2 separate regions of the Homo sapiens genome follow, and region 2 is linked to region 1. Evidence: promoter capture Hi-C in human tissues and cell types (Jung and others, 2019). All regions are on one chromosome and are shown on one strand. Each heading gives the region's core, a stretch centred on a gene start or on the middle of the fragment in contact. The rest is flanking DNA. Distances are from core to core; before and after follow the strand shown. Region 1 holds the start of ALDH3A1 (aldehyde dehydrogenase 3 family member A1). Region 2 has its middle 33 kb from the start of ALDH3A2.

What was found. Contacts are between HindIII fragments. The study calls those that stand out against the background at their distance.
Region 2: a contact is called between a fragment that was not itself captured here and the fragment with the promoter of ALDH3A1 in region 1, in 9 of the 25 tissues and cell types used here (adrenal gland, aorta, heart left ventricle and 6 more).

Annotation. Positions count from the first base shown.
Region 1 is chr17:19,744,879-19,751,901 of GRCh38, reverse strand. It overlaps ALDH3A1 (aldehyde dehydrogenase 3 family member A1), which reads left to right and starts at 3,604. Exons shown (of 11, transcript NM_000691.5): 1 at 3,604-3,643; 2 at 6,768-6,934. The coding sequence starts at 6,773. RefSeq lists enhancers at 1,368-1,647, 5,928-6,895 and a silencer at 6,955-7,014. The HindIII fragment of the contact is 25,713 bases long and covers 1-7,023 here.
Region 2 is chr17:19,612,736-19,619,389 of GRCh38, reverse strand. No RefSeq gene overlaps it. Among named protein-coding and RNA genes, the nearest start is that of ALDH3A2, 33 kb to the left of the region's middle. The HindIII fragment of the contact is 3,298 bases long and covers 2,485-5,782 here.

The DNA.
Region 1 (7,023 bases), core at 2,355-4,854:
TCCTGCCTCAGCCTCCCGAGTAGCTGGGATTACAGGCATGCACCACCACGGCCAGCTAATTTTTGTATTTTAGTAGAGATGGGGTTTTACCATGTTGGCCAGGCTGGTCTTGAACTCCTGAGCTCAAGTGATCTGCCCGCCTCAACCTCCCAAAGTGCTGGGATTACAGGCGTGAGCCACCGCACCCAGCCTCCTTCCTTTTTTTTATTTTTTGTAGAGATGAGTCTCTCTATGTTGCCCAGGCTCCTTCTACTCGTATAAAGAAAGTGGTTTCCCCTCCCAACAACTATATCTAATCTAAATGTTCCTTGAAATTTAAGCAAACTCGCTATTCATTCATTCATTCATTCATTCAACACTTTTTTTGCTAGCTTTGGGTGAATTTGCTGAAAATCGTCTTGCTAAATGATTGCTTTTCCATCAGAGGGATGGTTAGGTGTAGTGGGCTGCTTCCGTATCTTCAGAGGTCTCCCTTGTGCCAGGATATGGTGCTGAACAAAAGTTGAGATCTCTGCCTTTGTGGACATTCCAGTCCAAGGGGGAATAAGGAGAGACATAGTCACACAAACAAAGATATGAACGCAGGTTGTGACAGGTTCCTGGAAGTAAGGAAGGTTTTATTTGAGAGGTGAGAGAGGTCAGGGAAGCTGAGATCTGAACATGGATAAGAGTTAGTCTGGTGCAGAGTGGAAGAAAAAGTGTCCCAGGGAGCAAGAACAGCATGTGCAAAGGCCTTGTGGTAGGAAATTGCCTGGTTAAGTCAAGGAATGCCAGCAGACTGGAGTGCAGTGAGAATGGTGGGAAGTGGTGCGAAGTGAGGCTGGCAAGGCAGCCAGGAGCCAGGCCAGGCAGGGGCTCACAGGCCATGGGAGGAAGCTTCCTGACAGCAAGGGGGTGCCACCCAAGGATGTGAATCAGGGGAGAGACATGCTCAGGTCCTTATCGTCCGCATGTCTCTCTGGCAGCCACTTGGAGAAGGCAGCTGAGCCTGACTCAAGGAGAGTAGGTAGAGGGCAAGAACAGTGGCCTGGGAGAGAGAGAGTGAGTGACAGCCCAGGTGAGGATGAGGCATTGGGGATGGAGTATTAGGACTTGCAAAGATTAACTCATGCTTGCAATCCCAGCACTTTGGGAGGCTGAGGCGGGAAGATGAATTGAGCCCAGGAGTTTGAGACCAGCCTGGGCAACATAATGAGACCCATCTCTACAAAACATTTAAAAATTAGCCAGGCATGGTGGTGGGTTCCTGTAGTCACAAGGTGGGAGGATCGCTTGAGCACCGGAATTCAAAGCTGCAGTGAGCCGTGATGGCACCACTGCACTCCAGCCTGGGCAACAGAGCAACACCCTGTCTCAAAAAAAAAAAAAAAAAAAGAAAAAAGAAAATCTGAAAAGCAAGTATCTGCAAGTTTCTAGCACAACCCACACTCCCACACTTTTGCCACTACTGAAACTATAACCAAAACCCAAACACGCAAACAAGGATTTTGTTCTTCGTAGATTTGAACTGCTTTTAGGCTCCTTGCTCTGACGCTTCCACCACTACTGCTGCCACTTTTGATGACACCCACACCACCTAACCTTTCCAGGATGCCCTCGGCCCGCCAGGCACTGTTCTGGTCACTTCGTGTACTCAATGCTGTGTTGCTGGCTTTTGCTAGTTGCTTCCATGGTTCTCCCAGGGGAGGGCCGCTGCCACAAGAAGTCAGCTCCGAATGGCCTTCGGCCTTGCATTCTGCCCTCTACTCAAGATCCAAATTCCCAGGAGAGTCAGGGAGGCCTCATGGGGAGCCCACCCCAACCCATGGCTGGCCTGGAGAAGGCACCTGGTTGATCATCTCACCAAGTAGGAAGGGGTTGCCTGCAAAGATAATCAGCTGCTGCCACCAGAAAAGGGGAGAGGCTGGCACAGGCTCGGTCTTCTCCCCTCTCAGGAGGCACCCCACTTTGCACCTACCACCCAGTCCAGCCCCTGCACAGGTGCGAGGTCCTGCAGATGCTTCTTTCTGCTGTTTCTGGAATGTTTCCCATTCTGTTAGTCTTATTTGGGGGTCTCGTCATTTCTTGCCTGCATTGCTGGAAGCTGCAGCCTTTGGGCTAGACCTTTCTCACACTGTGCCCTGTCCAGGGGGTTCTCTAAAACAAAAAATAGCAGACATTTGTCTGTCTGATAATCTCCTCAGCGCCCTGCACCCCCACAGCCAGCCTGGCCCACAGGCCTCCGTGAGCCCCCGCCCCAGGAGAGTCATTCACCTCCACACCTCCTGCTGGCAACAGTGGACACATCGCACTTTTTCGTGACATAACGTTCCCAGCCTCTGTGCCTTTGCTTCTGCTCTTCCAGCCCCCTTGCTGTTCCTTGCCCAAATGCTTCTCACTCAGCTCAGATGATGTTCCCTCCCACGGACTCTCACCCCAGCCCCTCTAGCATCCTCTGCCTACCTGGTTACTACAGTGTTCACATTATTTTGAAATTTCCTGTTTATTTTGTCAGTCAATAAATATTTATTGAGCATCTACTATAAATGCTGTATGGAGGTTACAGCAGTGAACAAATCAAATTCTAGCTGTCAGGAGTTAAGGGACAGGTAGCAAACAAGATATAAACGCTCCAGAGAAAAAATAATGGAGGAAGACGACAGCATTGTGCTATTTTCCACAGCACATTGGAGCGTAGCCGTGTGGGTGGATGTAGGGGAAGGGGGCTCCAGGTGGAGAGAAGCAGGAGGGCCAGAGCACATCCTCAGGACTCGTAGGCCAGGACCGGAACCTTGTGTTTTCCTCGAATGAAATGGGAAGCAGGGACCCCATGCTGGTAAGCAGTCTGCCTGCAGGCGGGTGAGGGTGGCGGGAAGCGCCTGGTGAGAGGGGCCGAGAGTCTGTTCCACACCTGCCTCCTCCCCACAGCGTGGTGCAGAGCAGGAGCCCAGCGAACATTGATCAGACAGCGTGGGAACGGCTTTTCCAGACTCCTTCCTTCCCAAGCATCTCTGGTTTTCGGTGACCACACAGACCCTTGGCCCTCTTCTCAGCTATTCAACGAGAGAGCAGATTTATGGATTGGAGACCCCCATCAAAAGTCCCCAGCCTGTGGCTCCCCAGGGTTAGGATCTCTGACTCAATGGGGCCCTGTGCACACTGGGGGATGTGAAGGGCCCGGGGCAGCGGTGGCTGGGGGTGCGTTTCGGGGGAGCTGCATGCTCTCACTGTGGTTCGTGGCTGAGCCCTGCCGATCTTATGTAACCAGAGAACTCAGAGAACCGCATCTGGCAGCGGCAAGTCTGGAAAGCTGGAAGAGCTCCATGCCAGGCTGAATCAATCAGCAGCCCCCACGCCCAGGGCAAACATAGGCTCTTTTGAAGATTGGAGATGTGCCCTGCCCAAGCCTTCAGAAACATTCTCGCATTTCAGAAGTGAACAAAAGCAAACAGCCCGGGACCTAATCCCCAAAACCTGGGCTGTAGGGAGCAGAGGTCCAGAGGACGCCACACCCCACATTTGAATATTTTTTTTTCTTGTCACGCAAACTTCCTGGGCAGGAACTCCAAGGGCTCAATGGACGGGAAGCAGGGTCCTTAAATACGTCCCCTCTTGGCTCTTGCCGTTCCAGGAGCCCCAGTTACCGGGAGAGGCTGTGTCAAAGGTAATCCTCTTCCCTGCATTCCTTATTTTTTCTCTTGTCTAGGTGGAGTCTGCACTCAGAGCCGGGGCCCTAAGTGTCAAGAGTCCTACATCATCTCTCCAGGGGGTCCCTGCCTCTGGGACCATCATCTCTGGAGCATCCTCCTGGACCTCTGGCAGCTCTGCCATCCCCCAAACCAGGAGGCAGAGGTCCCAGGGATCCGCGGAGCAGGGACACCAAGGTGGCCGTGGAGTGAGAGGCCCTGATGGGCCGTCAGACTCCATGACTGGAAGGAAGGCAGCAGAGCCGAGTGCTAAAGGCATGAGCTGCTGACAGAGATGCATGTGGGTTCAAACCCTGACATGCCACCTGCTAACTGTGAGATCAGATACAGCATTAAACGTTTCTCAGTCTCCCTTTCCTCATCTGTAAAATGCACTCATAACCGTTTCTTCTTCATGGGCATCACTACAGAGCTTTTGTGAGGATGGAAGGCAATGAGGAGGGGAGGAGGTGTCACTGGGGGGCAAAGTCAACACTGGCACAGGTGAGAGGAGCGGGGTGCAGGAATGTGGGGTGTGAGGCGACGGGCTCTGGGGAGGCCCCCAGTGCATGCTGCAGCAGCTCCCATTTGGGTGCAGCTGCGACGTGATGGTGTCCACTCATCTCTGTGAAGTGGCACCTTTGTTAACCTGTCTCTCGGGGAAGTCCTGGGAAGGCCGTCCAGCCCAGAGACCACAGTTCCAAGTGGCGATGCTGGGGTGCAAGGCCAATCCCGTCCCACGCTCACCAGGCTCTTCCCACCTGGGCTGCCTGCCTTGGTTTGACCGTACAAGGCTCGGGAGAGAAGCGGGACCTTCTCTCCTGGGTTGTGGTCAGCAGGAGGGGCCTGGCCCATGGGACTGAGGAGGTCCCAGTGAGGGGGCTTTCCCAGCCTCCTATCAGAACATAGGGAGGGACCATGGAAGGGCCAGGCTTAGAGCACCCTCAATGCCAGCAGGTCCCTCCTCCCTGTGCAGAAAGCCTGGGATTAGGGGTCAGCCTATGGGGAGGGGAGGCAGAGGAAGGATTGGAAGCCACTCGCTGGAATGTAGGCAGGACCATATATCTATATACAATATAATTATATATTACATATGATATATAGGGTTTTTTAAAAAAATGGAAATACCCTATTTCTGCTGATGTTAAAAGTTATGCCGGGTCTGCAAGTGGGCTGAGTATCTCAGGAAGGGGAGTAAGGAACTGGTAACAGTGGCCCCTCTGTGGGGCAGCACCTGACAGCTGATGGAGCAGGGAGGAGGGAGGCAGACTTTTTTCTGTGCCCCTTTGCTATATTTTACATTTTGTTTCATGAGCATGTAGTGCCTATCTTAAAACGCACCAAAATTTAAAAAATACAAGCTCATTGCAAAAAGTCAAACATTGCATAAGAGGAAAACAGATCATCAATAATTCCACCCCCATCAGTTGTCTCATCGTGTCGGGGGCTACCGTTCTAGTCCTTTCTTGCATGTTAGAGCGTGCACGCCCACACACACACGCACACGCGCGCACACACACGCACATGCACACACACGCACGCACACACACACGCACATGCACACACACGCACACACACACATGCACACACACGCACACGCACACACACACACGCACACACACACATGCACACGCCTGGTACATCTGTTGTTCTGTAACTTGTTTTCTGTTTTTCTTTCTTTCTTTCTTTCTTTTTCTTTTTTTAGATGGAGTCTCGCTGAAAGTAATTATATTACTTACCCGAGGCCTTCAAATACCGCTTCCACTGACAGCCTCTTGACTTCTAGCAAATCTCACTAACCTTGCCTTACCTCCTACCACTAATCTAATAGGAGAACTCTGTGATTATGGCTCCATTCTCCCGGTCAAAGTGCTGGAGTGCAATGGCCCAATCTCGGCCCACTGCAACCTCCTCCTCTCAGCTTGGTTCAAGCAATTCTCCTGCCTCAGCCTCCCAAGTAGCTGGGACTACAGGTGCCTGCCACCACTCCCAGATAATTTTTGTATTTTTAGTAGAGACAGGGTTTCACCATGTTGGCCAGGCTGGTTTTGAACTTCTGACCTCAGGTGACCCGCCCACCTCAGCCTCCCAAAGTGTTTGCTAGGATTATAGGCGTGAGCCACCGCGCCCGGCCTGTAACCTGTTTTCTTTCTTATCCCCAGTGCCTGAGACACCCCTGGTGCAGAGAGAGCCCCTACAAACATGCTGAATAGCCTGCTCCACCTAATCCCTAAATACTGCACAGTAAACCCTTACGTGGGTGTGACAGGAGTCATTTAAACTGTCTCCTTTCTTTCGGATCTTTGGGATGTTTACAATACTTCCCTGTTATAGAAAACAGTGATGACTTTCTTATTCGTGAATGTTTAGGAAAGGCTGTAGGACCTTTTCGTCACAGAGAAGTATGTTTGAAAAACTTTTGCCACATATTGCCAAATTGCCCCCAGCAGGGCCATCCCGATTTGCCACTATACTTTCGTGTATTGGTAGCAGGAATCGCCTCCACACCTCTTTGTGGAAATCTGCAGCTCTCTGAATCCTTGGCGGGCATGGGCGTGCGTCTCCCAGGTGTGGCACGCGTGGTTTACACACCAAGCCTGGTTCAGCTCTGCCAAGAAACCAGCGCTTTTTAGAACAATGGCTTAGCCAGGAGGGTGGTGCTGGGTTTTTCTTTATCGGCTTGGGTGTGGAATCGCGGACTGCGCCCCTCCAATCTGATCTGGAGAGTGGCTGACTGCGTGTGCAGAGCTCTGGGGGTGTTGGTCTGGGATTGTGCCATCAGCTTTGCAAGCAAGTAAGGGAGCGGAAAAGGCCGGGAAAGGCCCTGCCGCGAGCACGCTGCCAAGAGCCCCCAGCAGCAGTTCGGCTTAGGACTCGGGTTGCGGCGGGTGTCACCTTCTCAGGGGCTAGCAAGGCAGCCAGGGCCCAGGCGTCTGAGTGAGGGGCGGGAGAGGAGGCGAGGCAGAAAGTGGACCTTCCAGCGGAAAGGCCATTTTCCCCAAGGCCGAGCCCAGGGAAGTCCCTTCCTATAGAATTCAGGCAGGGTGGGAGGCAGGGCGCGCTCGTGCCCCTCAGCCAGCTGCAGGTGCTCTCTGTCCCCAGGCGCCATGAGCAAGATCAGCGAGGCCGTGAAGCGCGCCCGCGCCGCCTTCAGCTCGGGCAGGACCCGTCCGCTGCAGTTCCGGATCCAGCAGCTGGAGGCGCTGCAGCGCCTGATCCAGGAGCAGGAGCAGGAGCTGGTGGGCGCGCTGGCCGCAGACCTGCACAAGGTGCTCAGGCTGGGCGGCCGCCTTCTGCCAGTGTCGGGGCCATGCGATGGGGCGTGGGGGGAGGGGCTGGGGAGAGTGCGACCCAGAGA
Region 2 (6,654 bases), core at 2,884-5,383, 130 kb after region 1:
GGCCAGTTAAAGGGCTGAAGTTGGAACAGTTATATGCAATGAAAAAGCCCAAAATATGATCACGGAGTGTGTGCCCAAGGTAGGGCAGGAGAAAGTTACTGGAGAGAGGACTGGGGAGTTGAGGTGAGGGGCTGGGGCATTGAATGTCTTCATCTATATGGATGCTGAGTTCACACAGGATGCTGGTAAGATTTGAGGGTGGAAAGACTGTATGAAGGTGCTAGGGTTTTACATAAAAGAGGAGGAAATGAAGATCTAAAAGTGTATATCACATGTACAGGTGCCACTAGCTGGAAAGGATAGGACATACTGTCACTGGAAAAATTAGACACCAAAAATGTCAAGATGACTAGAAAATAAGAAAAAAACAATTAATGGGTCCAAATGTAGGATTCTGCACTTGGGCTCAGGAGGACAACCACACAAAGGAAGGGTGGTGATGCTGTGGCTGGTCAGTGGCACATTGGCAGGTCATGTGGTGTAGCCACCAAAAACTTAGTACTTCCCTAGAAGTCTAACGGGTTCTGCTCTAATGGAAATGGTTCTTCTCTAAATGGTGCTGTTTGTACTATGGACACTGCCTTCAGGCTTCTGTTAATTCAAGATGAAGATGGTAGAGACTCAAAACCACATTCCATGAGAAATGACTGAAGGAATTACAAATGTTTACCATGAAGATCCTGTGGAGCATGAGCCATCATAAAAACACCCATAGGGCAGTAACTGAAAAATGGACAGACTCTCCTACAGAATCATAAGCCCAACAGCTAGTATCAGTGGGTGAAAGTTATGGGTAGGAAAGGTAGGTTTCAGTTCAAAAGAAAAGTGTTCTGAGAATCAAGCTGCATTGGGAGGTAGCAAGTTCCTCATCAGTGAGTTAATTAAGTATAAACGACAGCTTGGCCAGGATGTTCTAGAGGAATCCCAAGGTCAGATCAGTGATTACATCAAATAAATACCCTTTTAGACCTTTAATCTGAAGATTTTATCAAATGTGGAAAGTTTTTTGCCATTATTTCTTTAAAAAAAAAGTATCCTGCCCCTCTTCCCTCTCCTCCGCTTTGGGAACTACGTACGATTATGTGCTTTTAGGCCACTTACAACTTGCTCATTTTCATTTTTTTCAGTCTTTTTTCTCTCTACATTTTATTTAGGATATTTACCATTGCTGTATCTTTAAATTCACTAATCTTTTCTTCTACAGTGTCTAATCTGCTGTTAATGTCAACCAATGTATTTCCACCTCAGATTTTTTTGTTTCATCTCTTGCAATTCAATTTGCTTTTCTTTTCATAAATTTGATATCTCACTTTAGCATGCTCATGTTATTCTCTATTTTCTTAAAGATTAAACAAAATTATAGAAACCATTTTAGTATTCCTGAGTAGTAATTTTATCTGTTCATTTCTGGGTCAGTTTCTATTGATTGATGTTTCTCTTTATTATGGATTTTAGTTTATTATTTCTTTGTATGCCTGGTAATTATTAATTGGCAGACATTGTGATTTTTACTTTGTTGGTTACTACATATTCTTGTACTATTTTAAATGCTCTTGAGCTTTGATACAGTTAAGTTCTGTGATGCAGTTGCTTCCTAGAAGCAGTTTGACCTTCTTGAGGTTTGCTTTTAAGCTTTGTTAAGCAGGACCAGAACACTCTTTATTTTTAGGGCTAATATTCCTCTACTACCCAGGCAAAACCCTCCTGAGAACTCCACCAGCTGTCTTATGTATTACGAGGTTGTTTCATTCTGGATGTTGGGAACACAAACTCTTCCCAGCCCTTATGAACTCCAGGGATTGTTTTGTCTGCTCCTTTCAGGTGTGTCCCGCTGGCTTCCAGTAGCATCCTCACATGCACATCCAGTTTGGTAGTCAGCTAGACTTGAGAGAGCCCCTCTGTGGATTTTTTTTTTTTTTTGAGATGGAGTCTCAGTTTGTGGCCCAGGCTGGAGTGCAGTGGTGTGATCTCAGCTCACTGCAACCTCTGCCTCCTGGGTTCAAGCAATTCTCCTGCCTCAGCCTCCCAAGTAGCTGGCATTACAGGTGTGTGCCACTATGCCTGGCTAATTTTGTATTTTTAGTAGAGATAGGGTTTCACCATATTGGCCAGGCTGGTCTCAAACTCCTGACCTCAGTTGATCCACCCACCTCAGCCTCCCAAAGTGCTGGGATTACAGGCGTGAGCCACTGTGCCCAGCCAAGATCTTGAAAGCACTCCCTCTCAAACTCTCTCCTCTCTGGTCCCCTGCCTTGTGAACTCAAGTCACATGGCCTCCCAAAACTCCCAACTCCATTTCTTCATCTCACAGAGATAGCAGGGCTTTCCCTCTTCCTGTGCTATGGCCTGGAAACTCTCCCCTAGTACACTGGGTAATCATAGTGTTCTCTCATTTTTTTCCCCTCTTTGGGCTGCCTGTTGTCCAATGTCTGAAAACTTTTTTCTTTTTTAAGATAAGGCCTTGCTCTGTCACCCAGGCTAGAGTGCAGTAGCATAATCATGGCTCACTGCAGCCCCAACTTCCTGGGCTTAGGTGATCCTCCCACAGAGCTGGGACTACAAGCATGTGCCACCACATCTAGGCAATTTTTGTAGTTTTTGTAGAGATGGGTCTTGCTATGTTGCCCATGCTGGTCTCAAACTCCTGGCCTCAAGGGATTGAAAACTATTTTAAAATATATATATATATTTTAATATATATATATATAATGTACATATATACATATACATTTATACATATATACATACATATATAATATATACATATTATATATTATATATACATACATAATATATACATATTATATATTATATATACATACATAATATATACATATTATATATTATATATACATACATATATATACATATTATATGTATGTGTTGGCCAGTTTTTAGTTGTTTAAAGCAGAAAGGTAAATCCAGTCCCTATTACTCCATCTGATCACCTCCTTGGTCCTGAGATTTTATAAGAATACGTTTAGGCATTGGTCTAAAATCAGTGAGGTCAGATGACACTAGGAAAGCACACTTGAAAATAATAAAACTGGGCCAGGCGTGGTGGCTCACATCTATAATCTCAGCACTTTGGGAGGCCGAGGCAGGCAGATCACCTGAGGTCAGGAGTTCAAGACCAGCCTGGCCAACATGGTGAAACCCCATCTCTACTAAAAATGCAAAAATTAGCTGGGTGTGGTGGCACGTGCCTGTAATCCCAGCTACTTGGGAGACTGAGGCAAGAGAATTGCTTGAACCTGGTCTTTAGAATTATTTCAGTAGAACCAAGTGTAACATTATTTAGTTGGTTTATCATTAACAGAAAATCATAATTAAAAGCTTTATTTAACTTTGTAAATTTGAAAGAGCATAAAGAATAGATGTTTTAGTTGAATATATATATATGATTCAATTCCTAGAGAAATTCTGATACATAGATTTTAACTTAGCACACTAAGTTCAGCACAGATGCCAGGGAGTAGAATGCTTGACTCACCAGCACACAGGAGAACTGTGGTGCAGGAGCACCAAGCCTCCTCTACATTCCCTTCCCCCAGAGCATTGCCCACTCGGATGCTGGCTGCAACTCCAAGGCCCAGGGGTACCTGAGAATTAAGAAGCATAAATCACAGTCGTAAAGCCTGAACATTGGAGTATTAGTGCACTAGCGTCTAACTAAATGGAAACAGGACAGACCCGGAGAGCTGAGTTCTAGAACTGGCTCTCTTACATCCTAGCTGTGTGACTGTGGACAAATTGCTTAGCCATGTGACATCCGATTTCTTTGCAGGTAAGGAAGCATGACAGTTGCCCTGACGGCTCCCTGTACCACATTCATCACAGCAGAACCTCGTAATGAAGCTGGATTTGAGGGCAACACACCCCCTTTATTGGCTACACACACACTATCAAGACAATTCAACTTAGCTACATTATACAAAGTAAGATTTAACTTAGTATAAACGTTAGTATACAAATAATTTGTAAAAATTAAATGACCCATGTGAAAAAGCATTTAGAACCGCGCCTGGCACACTGTAGGAACCCCAGACATTGATGAAATCTGACTCCACGACAATACCTCGTTTTTGGTGGGATGGGTGAAACATTCCATATGTCTGATTATCCGGTAAATTGAAAGAGGCCCCTTCAAATGCAAAGGCTTAATTTTAATCATTGATTATGAAAATCTAAAGCTATAAGCTTATTTGCTTCTTAAATAGACCACCACTCAACCTTTGGGGCCACCTTCTTGACCCCTATCATGATCCTGCAATACAATGCTGCCCCCAGGGGCTGCGAGGGTAACGTGGGTTGTACAGACAACTTAGCTTTGGGCTCTCAAGTTCACTTTTAATCACTCGTACATCAGCTCTAACTTCTCATTCCTACTAGAAACAGCATCCTCCCAAAAGCCTTCTAATTCATTACTGTTTTGAAAACTAGCCTAAGTTCAGTTGATAAAAATATATATTAAATTGTTAAGATTAAGAACTTGAGGCCAGGCGCGGTGGCTCATGCCTGTAATTCTAGCACTTTGGGGTGCCAAGGCTGACAGATCGCCTGAGCTCAGGAGTTCGAGACCACCCTGGGCAACATGGTGAAACCCTGTCTCTACTAAAATACAAAAAACTAGCCACGCATGGTGGCACGCGCCTGTAGTCCCAGCTACTCGGGAGGCTGAGGCATGAGAATCGCTTGAGCTCGGAAGGCGGAAGTTTCAGTGAGCGAAGATTGTGCCACTGCACTCCAGCTTGGGCTACAGAGTGAGACTCCATCTCAAAAAAAAAAAAAAAAAAAAGAACTTAAAAAAAAAAACAGACCTGAGTATGAGTATATAAACATCTCTTAAGATTTGCATGCCTAAAGTACACATAACTGGCTTCCAGTTCAAAATGAATGAATCACATGCCTAACTCCCTTCCCTCCCAAAACACTGTTAATGGAAAATAAATCTCCATGCTTAATAGAAAATAAATTCATTAACAACACTGAGAATGAGAGCCGGTCAGCTTCTGGAAGAGGGAAAGCAGGCTCCACAGCCATGATCCAAGGGCAGAAACGCAGGAAGCCACAGCACAGAACATGAACAGAATGCTGCCTCACACTCCGTCTTCCCAGTAGAGCTCCAGGAGCACTGACGCCCTGCTTCCCCCCACCGAGGCTGTGAAGAAGAGCAGTCAGGGAGATGCGCCACAGGGCTGGGACAGGACACCCAAGCCCCGCGACCTGCCCGTCCTTAGCCTTACTGCACACAAGAAGCTGGGCTGACACAGAAAAGCCAAGTGTGGAGCTTCCTCCGTGGCGTGAGTCAGGCCCTTCTTCTTTTGTTTTGGGGGATAGGTGGGACATGGGGATAAGGTGGGGCAGGAGGTCAGGCTGCCTACTGCCTAATCCTCACCCATAAGTCCTAAAATGAAGATGTCACTGGACAGGTACCACCTTGGTACCGAGTTCCCCACTGGTCCTTCCCATTTTGGGGAGAGGCCTGTTGGAGAAAAATCTCCAAATAATAGGAGAGGAAAGCTATGCCGGCCATTTGTTTGATAAATCAATGTACTCATTCATTCCTAAGTATAAACAGACTAGTAAGATCACCAGAGCTTTGAGGAAGACTGAAGCACACATCCCCAAAACAGATAAAGATAAGTAAAAGGTCAACTGATCTCAGAGAAAATAGATGACTCAAGGAACACAGAAGAACGTTTAAAGTTCCGATTTAGCATCCACAGGGATATTTAAAAGGTAATGCAGCATAAAACAAGAACAGGTTCCCATAAAAGAGACTATAAGACAAAAAAAAGATGTTCTTAGAAATTAAAAATGAAACTAAAAAAAAAAGCAGCAAAGAAGATAAACAAAAAGACAAAGAGATATTTTTTAATAGAAAAAAAAAAGCCAAAGCCAAGAAGATTAATTCCCAAGGTCAACCTCCACCTAATAAGAAATTTAAAAAGAAAGAACAGAAAAAAATTTACAGAAAAGAGGGAAAGAATATTTTTTAAATTTCCCAGAGTTGAAGAAAAACACAGGTCTTCAGACTGAAAGGGTATACCAAGTGCTAAGCAGAAGTTAAAAAGTATCCTCAGAGAAATGCACTCTTGTGAGATTTCAGAACTATAAAGATAAAGAAATAAACGTTAAAACTTTCAAAGAGAAAAATCATGCTGCCTACAAAGGAACAAGAAACAGATTCTGAGCAGACTTCACATCAGTAACTCTGAATACCAGACTGAGACACAGCAATGTCCTCAAAATTCAGAGGGAAGTTATTTTGAACCTACAATCCTATACTCAGCCAAATTATTAAACAAGTATAAGAGGAAAATAAAGACTCTCGAATATGCATGGCATATGATTTACTTTCCATATAATCTTAGAACAAGTTTTTGACTAAGTACTCCAGAACAAATTTTTTTAAATTTTCATTTGGCTGCTGCTAGATCAGAAGAAAAAAAATTAAAGAAATCTAAGAAAGAGGAAGAAATGGGATCAAAGAAATTGTAGGCTTAATTCAGGAGGACAATGAGAGAAATTCTGGAATGACAGCTGTGCAGCAAGCTAGAAAAAAGTCTAGAAATCAATGGATACAAATTAATTATTCCTTTTTTTTTTTTTTTGAGACAAGAGTCTTCTTCCGTCACCCAGGCTGGAGTG